3 separate regions of the Homo sapiens genome follow, and all the other regions are linked to region 2. The links are contacts of gene promoters, found by promoter capture Hi-C in blood cells and fetal thymus (Javierre and others, 2016). All regions are on one chromosome and are shown on one strand. Each heading gives the region's core, a stretch centred on a gene start or on the middle of the fragment in contact. The rest is flanking DNA. Distances are from core to core; before and after follow the strand shown. Region 1 has its middle 18 kb from the start of CD300E. Region 2 holds the start of NAT9 (N-acetyltransferase 9). Region 3 has its middle 3.3 kb from the start of CD300H.

Region 1 (3,915 bases), core at 894-3,393, 130 kb after region 2:
TTAACATAGTAAGTATGTGGGGGACAGTTGAAATGGCAAAGACTTTCTGCTTATTTCTGGAGCCATGCATATGTGCTTAGTACAGGAATTGAGAAAATCATGTGTGTTATTCCAGAGATTAATTCCAACCTTTCTTACCTGCATATAGCATCAAAACCTCCTTCTTTATTTTGAAATAATTTTAGATAATTTAGTATCTTATAGTTTGTAAGAATCTTTCTTTCTTTCTTTCTTCTTTCTTTCTTTCTTTCTTCTTTCTTTCTTTCTTTCTTTCTTTCTTTCTTTCTTTCTTTCTTTCTTCTTTCTTTTTCTTTTTTTTTGGAGACAGAGTCTTGCTCTGTCACCCAGGTTGGAGTAGAGTGGCGCAATCTTGGCTCACTGCAACCTCCATCTCCTGGGTTCAAGCCTCCTGAGTAGCTGGGATTACAGGCACGCACCACCACACCTGGCTAATTTTTGGGTTTTTAGTAGAGACAGGGTTTCACCATATTGGCCAGGTTGGTCTCAAACTCCTGGTCTCAAGTGATCCACTCGCCTTGGCCTCCCAAAATGTTAGGATTACAGACATGAGCAACCACACCTGGCTGCAAGGTTGCTGAGTGGACGGACATTCACTCATTCATCTCTTCACACAGCATGCATTTACTGAGCACCCGCGGTGAGCTGGTCACTGTACTTACTGCTGGGATATGAAGATGAGTCAGACACCGCACCTGCTCTGGAGTGGGGGTTTCTATTCTTATTGGAGAGGGGAACATAGATAACCTCACTCTGGCTTCTGGTTGGGCTCAGGTTGTCAATGGAGGAAAATGACTGAGGCAAGTCTCAATCATTTTAGGAAGTTTATTTGCCAAAGTTAAGGAAACGCGCCTGGGAGACAGGTCTATACCTTTCTCTGAAGATGATTTTGGGGGCTTCAATATTTAAAAGGGAAAGGGTGGGATATTGAGAAATACACAATTTTCTTGTGAGAGGGGAGGTGGGGAAAATAGCCATTCAGGCCTTTGTCTGGCTCAGTGAATCTGCATTTTTACCTAAGATAACGTAAACAACAGGGCAGAGGAAACAGTCAGATATGCGTTTGTCTCAGGTGGGCAGAGGAATGACTTTGAGTTCTGTCCTGTGTCTCGCACCTGTGAAGATAAGCTATCAGTTTACATTGGCATGGGGAAATTTAACAGAAACGCTTTAAAGACCACAATGTGAGGGAGGTTGGTAGCCTGTCATCCTTGTCACCATCTCATTTAGGAACCAACATGGGAGGTAGGTTTGCATGACCCAGTTCCCTGCTTGACTTTTTCCTTTGGCTTAGTGAGTTTGGGGTCCCAAGATTTATTTTCTTTCCAAGGAATGGCAATGGGTGGTGCCAGCAGGAGAAAGGAAGGTGAGAGTTTCTCCTGCCCAGGTGCCACCCTGCTGGGCTGGAGTGTCCGTTTTCCTACTTTGAGGTCACAGCCCCTGTGGCATGGTCCTGTCCTACAGTTCCTGTGGGTTCTGGTTATTTCTGACACCTCTCCCTGTGTTAGAGGTGTCGTGGCCCTACTGCTGTTGCTAGTCCTGTTTTTTCTCCATCTCTTGTTGATTTCACTTAACTCTTTCCTTCTCTTTGTAAATTTCCCCTGCATTAGATTATTCTGTTATACCAACTGAGCCTGCCATTGGCCCACTCCCAGGATCCTGACAGAATCATGATCTCTCCTTCTTCTTTGTATACACAGCGCCTTTACTTAGTAGACGCTCATTAAGTGACTGTCCAATTAATAATAATGTAACATGTTAGGGGCTGTGTCAGCAATTTTTGGGTAAGATTTGCCCTCTGAACATCCAACTCCCTGTTTTGATGTCAGATAAATCTGCTGGATTAGTATATTTGAAGACACAATGATACATAAAAATGTGACTTAACTTGTCTGTTTTTGGAAGTTGTAGGCTCTTGAGAAACTGGGTGGGTGCCCTGTGATGCTAATTATTATGAGAATTAAAGCCACAAAGTTTCTGTTGTGATTAGTAGTTTTCCTGTCTCCAGCTTCTGCTTTTTCTGAACAGCTCTACGTATAAACATTGATGCAATGGGAAAACAACAAAACTGAGGTGTAGAAAAGAGAGACGCAAGGGAGTAGTAAGAAACATGAAAGCCAGTTTCAGTCCAGCTGACAGAAGCTCCCCAAATGTTGGCAGATGAGGCAGAGAGAGCAAAGAGACACAGTGACACATCTGCCCCTCCTGGACATCCTGGGTCCGGGGAGTGGGGTGGGGGAGGCTGGTGGGAGCATGAGGAACAGCAGGCCTAGTGGCTGGGGAAGGGGAGGTGGGTGGGGCTGGGGTGCACTGGGGAGAGGATGAGGGAATCAGAGGGATGACTAGAGTTTCAGGCTCCAGCCTCAGATGGGTGGGCTCTGCTGATAACAAACAGAGGCCCAAGGAAAGCGACTAAGCCAGGCCTGGTAGTCCAGAGGGCACAGAGGCAACCCAGGGTGTAGTGGGGAGCCCCTCCAGGGCCAGGCGAAGTCTTGCTCAGCATGAGGTCTGCAGCTGCAAACACAAAGTAGGACTCACACTTAGCAGGGCCTCCATATGCGGCAGCAGAATGCACAAATGGATTTGAGTTGTTCTGAACATTAGAGAAGCCCAGTGGGGAAAGGAATGCAGGGTCTGGGTCAGGTGCGGTGGCTCACGCCTGTAATCCCAGAGCTTTGGGAGGCTGAGGTGGGTGGACCACCTGAGGTCAGGAGAGGAGCGCCGTGTACCATCAAGACAGCCCTGGCAAATGCTTTTTCACAGTGGTCACAAAGAACCCCAGCAAGGAAGATGTGGCTGTGTGCTGGTGTGCAAAGAGAGATGTTTTTATGCACCCAGGGGACATGGGATGATTGCTGTTTTGTCACATGGGAGTGTCCTGTAACCCCCACCCTCCTTCCCAAAGAGCACAGACTGTGTCTGACAGCTGGTATGTGTGTGCACGTGCGCACATGTGTGCTTGCACACCTTCTGCAGGCTCCTCCTCTGTTCTAGCATCAGAGTCATATCTCTCTCATCTGTTTCTTTTTTCTTTTTCTTTTTTTTGAGTTGGAGTTTTGCTCTTGTCACCCAGGCTGGAGTGCAATGGCACGATCTTGGCTCACTGCAACTTCCTCCTCTCGGGTTCAAGGGATTCTCCTGCCTCAGCCTCCCAAGTAGCTGGGATTACAGGTACCCACCACCAATGCCCAGCTAACTTTTGTATTTTTAGTAGAGACAGGGTTTCACCATGTTGACCAGGCTGGTCTCCAACTCTTGGCCTCATGTGATCCACCCGCCTTGGCCTCCCAAAGTGCTGGGATTACAGGTGTGAGCCACCGCGCCCTGCCAGGGTGGGGGGTCCTAGCTAGGAATACATAGAAAGACTCTGGAGATTCTTTTAATAGGATATGCGAAACTCAGTGTATGTGTGTGTTTTCCTAGGGCATGGGTGTATAGCTTTTGTTACAATCTCAAGTGTATCTGTGACCTCAGCTCCCCGAAGTTAAGAACACAGGGGACTCTCTCTCGCCTTGAATCCTCCAGAATTCGCTCACCAGCCCTGTCTGGTGTGGATATGAAGGTGAAGGAGAGGCCTCGGAGGCTTAGGGCGGGACCCATGGGCTCCTAACAGTGGCATTGCTCATCTCTAATGTTCCAGGTCTTTTCTGGAGAGCCCTCTCTCCTATTCTAGGCTCTGCTTAGCACCGTCAACGTTGCATCCCTTAGTAGCCTGAAATAAAGGGGAGAGAAGCAAATGAAAAAGGAGACCCATGGGGAAGTTATTTGCACAGACGAAGGCAAGTGAGTCAGCTGTGCAGGGTGGGTCTCGGAGGAAGATGCAGGAGTCATGGGCGTGGTGAGGTGGGGGGCACTGGGGCTCGAAGCCCAGCAGTCGCTCACTTTGGGGCTTTTGTC
Region 2 (4,088 bases), core at 1,078-3,577:
TGTCTCAAAAAAAAAAAAAAAAAAAAAAAAAAGACTTCCCCTGAGAAATTACACAGGTGATGGGTGAAGAAGGCTCCTTTATTGCCACACATGAATGGCACAGGCCCAATAGGAAGACTCTGGAATCAGGAAGGCTTTCTTCCAGCTGTGAAGGAAATGTCTTGGAGACACTTCCTTGTCCATCACACCACAATGCTAGTCTGTGAAGCTAGCAGAAACAGACCAGAGATCCCCAGGCTAGGAAGCTATGTACAAGGCAGGGCAGCTGTTGAAGGCAGGTCAAGTTCTAGAAAACTCTTGCTACTTAGGGCAGTGCTGCTTTTGCCTGGGAGGGTTGGTAGCAACCTGAGTCAACCATCTGATTATTCCAACCCTCTGGCTACTTATCCAGGCAAGAGGGCCCTGTGATGTAACAACTATGACCAATCATACGTTACATAGAGAAGATAAACTGCGTGTGTGTTGGGGGCAGCCAGAGGTAACACAGACCTAAGACAGTGAGAATCAATCATTCTAATTGTTCTAATTGCAGAGTCCACCAAACTGTAATTAGAAGTCTCTGTATGCTTTCGCTGCTTCTTACGCCATCCAAGACTATAAAAGTTGTGCAATTTAAAATTCAGTAAAGACCAAAGCGGTTTCCAACTGCTGAGATGAGCAAAACCCAGAGTCAACAGCTGTCAATCACTGTTCATCTGAAGGGCAGCACTGCAGGCAAGTGTGGTAGCCTGGAGATGAACATTATTTCTTTATTTTTGAGACAGAGTTTCGCTCTTTTTGCCCAGGCTGGAGTGCAACGGCTCGATCTCAGCTCACTGCAACGTCCGCCTCCCGGGTTCAAGCGATTCTCCTGCCTCAGCCTCCCGAGTAGCTGGGATTACAGTGCCACCATGCCCGGCTAATTTTGTATTTTTAGTAGAGACAGGGTTTTACCATGTTGGCCAGGCTGGTCTTGAACTCCTGACCTCAGGTGATCTGCCCGCTTCAGCCTCCCAAAGTGCTGGGATTACAGGCGTGAGCCACCGTGCCCAGCCCGGGATTAACATTATAAACAGCATGGCGATTTTGTTTGGCTTGACCACTCTGACAAACACCTTAAAAAGAGAATAAATCTGACTTACATTCTGAGCCACCACAGCAGCACTGTAGTCGCTGCCCCATGGAACTCCCCCATCCTGCTTCCACTATGGTCTGCTCAAGCAGCAGCACTCACTAGTCCCATCTCCAGCAAGCAATGTGCTTTTCTAGAAGCCAGGAACACTTAAGTGAGCAAAAGGTTCTATAAGTCACACTCACGTAGGAAGAGTAGAGTTCCCCGGTCTCTGTAATTTCACCCGCCATTTCCAAAAGTGAGGAAGGGCTGGCAGCAGAGGTTCCTTAGGTGCAAGGACGGCGGCTGCCGCAGCTCCTTAAAACAAAAGAGCAGGCTTCACCTATCTGATGGACTGAGACAGGGGTGGGAGGAGGCTTGCAGACTTCCCCTGCCACCTCTGGTTCTTTTATCACAGACACTTAGGGCCTCAGTATCTGTCACAAGACTCACCCCCGAGGGAGGGGTCACCCTGGATGACAGAAATCTGGACGGTTTCTTCTAACATTTCCCTTGCTGTGCAGGGCACTGCTCTGTGCCCAGCACGGATGTTTTCAATGCTGCTCGGGGTGCAAGTGATTTAAGGGGCCTCTAAAACCACTAAGTCTCACCCACCACAAGAGCCCCCTTTCCACGCTCTGGGGTGGTTATCCTCGTTTAGTTCCAGGAACCAGGAGCTCACTACCACACATGGGAGCCCAAGGAACTGTCTGCCGCCTCTGCCTAGGGCAGGGAGCTGGGGGCTTTCCTACATTGCCCTTCCAACTCCACTCTTGGCACTAAGGCCTCCTTTTTTTAATGGGGCCTCCACTCCCTGGCCCCACCTACTCTCTTAGGGTTCCCCACCCTCAAAGCTCCCTCTTTTCTCAAGAACCCCACTCCCAGCCTCTCCCTCTCTCTCCCTCCTGGAGGAGTCCCGAGTCTAGTGCCGCCCCGCCCCGCCCCAACCTATCCCGACCCGTCTCGTCCTCTCCCGCCCGTCCCGACCCGACCCGACCCAACACCTGCAGCACAGCCAGCTCCCAAGCCGCCGTCTCCCGCCGGTCCGCTGCTGCCGGCGCCAGCTGTCCAGCACCAGCTTCCGCAGCGCGCATGCGCCGGCCCCACAGCCCACCTTTTTCGCGCGCGCTGATTGGGCGCCTCGCGGGGGCGGGACCGGGATTGGGGCCTGGCGGCTGCCGTCAGCATGGCGGAAGTGGGCGGGGCGCGTTCTCACGCGCATGCGGAAGGGGCGGTAGCCGGCCGGGCCTGGGAACGTGGCTGGTTGGAGGAGGTAGATCACCCTTTCTGCGGGGGACGATTTCGTCGGTGGTAGGTGGGTGTGAGCTTGGCAGTACCCGGGTCCGCGTGGTTGGAGGGTCGAAGAGAGTGGTCTAGAACGCCACTCAAAGGGGAGGGCCTAAGACTAAGCCCGCCTTGCCCTGAAGTGGTCGGGGGCGGGGAGGGAGTGGCTAGAGCCCCGTGGGGTGGTCGCCGGGGTAAGAGGTTGGAAGTAGGTTTAAGGCAGGGCTGAAAGTTGATTCTGGGTTGGAATCCCTGGACTGGGGCAAGTAATGGGAGCTCTGGGGATACTTTGGTACTTGGTACTTGGTGCTTGGGTTTGAGGAATCGAAGTTCTGGGGAGTGGACGGAAGGAACCGGCAGAAACGGAGCCCAGGCTTGGCCTCTTGGAGTGGGAGTCAAGGATTGTTTAATTATCCTTAACCAGCCTGGTTCTCTTTCTTGCAAGAATTTTGGAGTCTGTATTCTTTGAAGTGTCTAGACGGAACTAATGACGGAAGTCAACTTAGCCCCAGCAGGAAAGCTGGAGCGCCTACCCAAAGTTGGAGGAAATTCAGGGTCCTGAAGTCTTTGCTCTCCCCATCTGCATGCAGGCTGCTACCATGAGGTTGAATCAGAACACCTTGCTGCTGGGGAAGAAGGTGGTCCTTGTACCCTACACCTCGGAGCATGTGCCCAGGTATCTTTCCCGCTTGACATGGGGTGCGTATCAGCACCCAGAGCTGTGTAAGGTACAGCCCCAGTCTCAGGGCTATTTCCCCTAAGAAGAAACATTGGTTGTGAGAAATAATTATATATGAGGGGGGAAAAAAGGCTGGGTGCCGTGGCTCACGCCTGTAATTCCAGGACTTTGGGAGGCTGTGGCAGGAGGATTGCTTGAGCCCAGCAGTTCGAGACCAGCTTGGGTAACGTAGCGAGACCTTGTCTCTACAAAAAAATACAAAAATTAGCCAGGCATGGTGGTGCACAGCTGCAGTCCCAGCTACTAGGGAGGCTGAGGTGGGAGGATTGCCTGAGCCCAGGAGATGAAGACTGCTGTGAGCTGTGATTGTACCACTGTACTCCAGCCTGGGTGACAGAGCAAGAACCTGTCTCAAAAAAAAACAAAAAAAACAAAAAAACAAAAACAAACAAAAACAAAAAAACGGCCGGGTGCGGTGGCTCACGCCTGTAATCCCAGCACTTTGGGAGGCTGAGGCGGGTGGATCATGAGGTCAGTAGTTCAAGACCAGCCTGGCCAACATGATAAAACGCCATCTCTACTAAAAACACAAAAAATTAGCTGGGCTTGTTGCCCGGCACCTGTAATTCCAGCTACTTGGGAGGCTGAGGCAGGAGAATCACTTGAACCAGGGAGGTGGAGGTTGTGGTGAGCCGAGATCACACCACTGTACTCCAGCCTGGGCAACAGAGTGAGACTTTGTCTCAAAAATAAAATAAAATAAAATAAAGGCTGGGCGCAGTGGCTCACGCCTGTAATCCCAGCACTTTGGGAGACCGAGGCAGGCGGATCACAAGCTCAGGAGAGCGAGACCATCCTGGCTAACATGGTGAAACCCCGTCTCTACTAAAAATACAAAAAAATTAGCCGGATGTGGTGGCGGGCGCCTGTAGTCCCAGCTACTCGGGAGGCTGAGGCAGGAGAATGTGTGAACCCGGGAGGCGGAGCTTACAGTGAGCCGAGATCGCGCCACTGCACTCCAGCCTGGGTGACAGA
Region 3 (3,986 bases), core at 191-2,690, 200 kb after region 2:
TGCCAACAGCAGTGGCTAAGAGCTGTGGAAGATAACCTCTGTCTAACTGGGCCTTTCAAATGGCCTCAGAGACACCTCAGTTGGTGGAATCCAGTTGTCATCCAAATCCCTGATTTCCAAATGAGGAAAGTGACAAGAAGCCTCACTGTTTCTGCAAAGGTCTTGCCCCAGACAGGGCTCCTCCAGGGAGAAGGAGCACAGGTGACTCATGCTGAAAAGCCAGAACGGTGAAGCATTGGGACAGACACCAGGACGTTGTCTCAGTCAGCTCAGGCTGCTGTAACAAAATACCATAAACCGAGTGGTTTATAAACAAGGGACCTTTATTTATTATAGTTCTGAAGGCTGGGAAGTCAAGATCAAGATGTTGGTAGATTTGGTGTTTGGTGAGGACTCTCTTCTTGACTTGCAGATGGCTGCCATCTTTCTGTATCCTCGTATGGCAGAGAGAGTGCTATGGTCTGAGTGTTTGTGTTTCTCCAGAATTCATGTGTTGAAACTTATTCCCAGTGTGTTGGTATTAGGAGGTGGATCCTTGGGGATAATTCAGTTGTGGGGGTGTAACCCTTATGAACAGGATTAGTACCCTTGTAAAAGAGACCCCAGAGAGCTGTCTTGCCCCTTCCACCATGTGAAGACACAGCAAAAAAAAGTACTCTTTATGAACCAGAAGGTGAGTGCGCAACAGACACTGAATCTGCTAGCACTTTGATCTTGGACTTTCCAGCCTCCACAACTGTGAGTAATGCATTTCTGTTGTTCATAACCCACCCAGTCTATGGTATTTTAAAATAGCAGCCTAAATGGACTAAGAAAGAAAGTGAGATCTCTCTTCTTCTTCTGATAAGGGCACTAATCCCACAATGAAGGCCTGATCCTCATGACCTCATCTAACCCTAATTACCTCCCACAGGCTCATTTCCTAATATCACCACATTACGGGTTAGGGCTTCCACATATGAATTTTTGGGGGAACTCATCAATCCATAGCAGACACCCAGAAGCAGACTTTGTTGTGTTGTTAATTTCCCCTGAAGATACTTCCTGCTATTCTGCAAACAGATATTGAATGAAATAAGACTTGGAGGCCTCTTCCACTTGCCATCTCTCAACCCATCTCACCCCTGCCTGAGTGTTGCAATCCGTACCTTGCATCATGAGAGCCAGAGGTGGGACCCCACCGAAGACCTGGGTTCAAATCCTGACCTCCCCACTTCCCATCATGACAGTTTAGTTCGTCTTTCCAGCTCCAGTCATCTTATTTAAAAGTGACCTGGCAGGGGTGTTGGGATGGGTATGCAGGATTTAAATATACAGAGTGCATGGTACGTAGAAGATCAAAAGAGGAAAGTTTCCCAGAGGGATGCCACCACCTTCAAATGCCTTTGCTCAACTCCTGGGACTGAGCAGGGTGAATATTTTTATTCCTATTTCACAGATGAGGAGACTGATGCTAAGAGACTTTTGCTGATTTGCCTAAAGTCATATAACTAGTGAACAGCAGACCTTAAAATCTGAGCCAGGGCTCCCAGCTTATGGCCAGAACCTTCCTCACTGTGCTACATGGCCCACATCATCAGAGTCAGGTAGAGACCCTCTCTGAGCCGGGCTCCCTATAGCACCCCAGCCCCCATGTTGGGAAGACCCTCCCCACACCCTGCTCCCTAGAGAGCCCTGTATTTGTAACAAGATCCCAAAGAGGCATCCATTGCCCAGAGCCGGTCAGGAGGCTGCCCTCTTGGTGACGTCTCCCTTGAGTGCCAGTGGGGAGGGAAGAAAGTGGGCAGTGGGGTCCACCATCCTTGGGCACTTGCCCATTCTCACCATGATGCACAAGATACTGAGAACTACTCCCCAAATGGATTGACGTCGGGTAGTAGAGGTGAGAGAAGAGAGGCCCAATGCCTTAATACATTCCTGATCCCCTCCCCTGGAAAATATGGAAGGATCGGAGCTCTCACCCTCCAATTCAGCTCACAAGGCTGGGGCCGAGCTCTGTCTGCGTCTCCGGGTGCCCAGATTGGTCCTGCCTTTGTGGAGGCTACAGCCTCACCTGGAAATGGATGCCATGCAACAGGACAATGACAGCACAGGGACATGAGATTAAATACAGAAATAAGCATTGCAGGTAACAGGAACCCCAGAGGGAGGGGTCTGGAAGGCCTGGAGCAGGCAGGGATGCCTTCCAGGAGAGGTGTGGTCTGAGCTCATCCTGGGAGAGTGAGAAGGGAGGATGACGGTTTTCGAGGAAGCAGAAAGACAAGCACAGCCCCGAAAGGCAGAGAGAAATGTGTGGGCTACTCACACTGTCCTACACATCACATGCCCCGAGTTTGCCCTAAGAACGCACCCCTCACTGATGAGATCTTAACTTTCTGGAAGCCCCAAGAGCTGTCCCTCAAGGGCAGCGATGGTGGGGGTCTCAGTGTGGTGCAGTGCCAGGCAGGGCCCCGGGCTCCCCGCCCTCCTGTGCCTCATGGCCAGTGTTCATTATTCTCAGTCCTCCCCTAGCTCTGCCCTCCTGGAGCGGACAGCATTTTCCAGGACAGGTTTCAGAGACAGAAGGACAAGGGCCTGCTGGGGAAGGGACAGCGGCTCCAGATGCTGGCCTTGACATGGAAAAAGCCTGGATGTCCCAGATGTGGGTCATCTCTTCAAGGAATTTGTCATCTCCTGGGGGACTCCAGGGCCCAGAGTACATCTGCTTCAAAGGTGGGTTCCCTGTGGCATTGCCATGTCCTTTGCATTTGGCAAACTGTCTGGTCCTAGCTAAAAAAATGAAACACACACAGGCTGTTTCTAAGCAGACCCTGCAGCCTCTCCCTGCCCCGACCTTGGATGAGCGAGAAGCACGGAGTCGGTGTGCTGCGGGGCACCCTTCCAGCCCGGTTAGGGAACCTCCAGTAGTGGGTTCTGTGGTTGTGGTCAGTGACTTGCCGCCTTGTCCTGTAAGAGGACTGTGCTTCTCCTTCCCACTGACTTCAGGCTTGACCCTATGACGATGAACGGTGAGCAGGAGCCGCATGTGCGCCTTCTGAGCAGAGGCTCAGAGAGCCACCCGGTGCCTTCCCTCTCCTCTAGCGGACTGGGCTCCGCAGCCTGGTGCCCAAGCAATGCTGACTCACCGCTTGCGTATAGACGAGCGAGAAACAAGCTTCTGTGGTTACAGCATGCTGGGATTAGGAGTTTTGCTATGGCAATGTGAGCCAGAAAGAGCTGACTAATACAACCCTGTGCACCCGGTGGTTTGTCCAGACAAGGATGGCGAGAATGTTTTCTGGAAAAGTCTGCAGCTGTGCGTCATCTCCTTCACAGACTCAGATCCCTTCTTCCCAAGAAAGGCACGTTGAGCAGCCCTTGACGCAGAGTCAGGGAGGGCCAGGCAAGCCTTTCCTTAGCGCCCAGAGCTAGGCACAGAGGGCGGGGCTCGCAACCGGCTCTGCAGGCTGCAAGGGGAGACATCTTTATCACTCCCAGCTCCTGCTTCCCCTCCACACACATGCACGCACCAACCCACACACCACACATATACACCACATGTACACACACACACACCCATACACCTCCCCACGCCCACACATGCACACACCACCCCACACACCACACACATACGCCACATGTAGACACACACCACCCACACCCCCCACACATGCACACACATACACACACCACACACATACACCACATGTACACACACACCACCCACACCCTCCACGCCCACACATGCACACACATACATACACTACACACATCACCCCACATACCACACACATACACCACACACCACCCCACATACCACACACGTACACCACACATGGACACGCACACACCACATACACTCCCACACATGCACACATATACACACTACACACACCACCCAACACACCACACACACGTACACACATACACACTACACACATCTCATCTCATACACACCACTCACATCACACACACCACACACACATTACACACACCCTACCCCACAT

The links. The method cuts DNA at HindIII sites, captures the fragments that hold promoters and counts their contacts. A CHiCAGO score of 5 or more calls a contact.
Region 1: a fragment that was not itself captured here is called in contact with the fragment with the promoter of NAT9 in region 2 in 5 of 17 cell types (naive B cells, monocytes, total B cells and 2 more); the score reaches 7.7 in naive B cells.
Region 3: a fragment that was not itself captured here is called in contact with the fragment with the promoter of NAT9 in region 2 in 2 of 17 cell types (M1 macrophages and monocytes); the score reaches 6.8 in M1 macrophages.

Annotation. Positions count from the first base shown.
Region 1 is chr17:74,639,971-74,643,885 of GRCh38, reverse strand. No RefSeq gene overlaps it. Among named protein-coding and RNA genes, the nearest start is that of CD300E, 18 kb to the right of the region's middle. The HindIII fragment of the contact is 7,428 bases long and covers 1-3,915 here.
Region 2 is chr17:74,774,584-74,778,671 of GRCh38, reverse strand. It overlaps NAT9 (N-acetyltransferase 9), which reads left to right and starts at 2,327. Exons shown (of 7, transcript NM_015654.5): 1 at 2,327-2,405; 2 at 2,965-3,050. The coding sequence starts at 2,974. It overlaps SLC38A12 (solute carrier family 38 member 12), which reads right to left and starts at 2,173. Exons shown (of 10, transcript NM_017728.4): 1 at 2,095-2,173; 2 at 1,297-1,408. The coding sequence starts at 1,341. RefSeq lists an enhancer at 2,526-2,645. The HindIII fragment of the contact is 5,812 bases long and covers 1-4,088 here.
Region 3 is chr17:74,568,857-74,572,842 of GRCh38, reverse strand. No RefSeq gene overlaps it. Among named protein-coding and RNA genes, the nearest start is that of CD300H, 3.3 kb to the right of the region's middle. RefSeq lists enhancers at 2,527-3,256, 3,257-3,986. The HindIII fragment of the contact is 3,432 bases long and covers 1-3,156 here.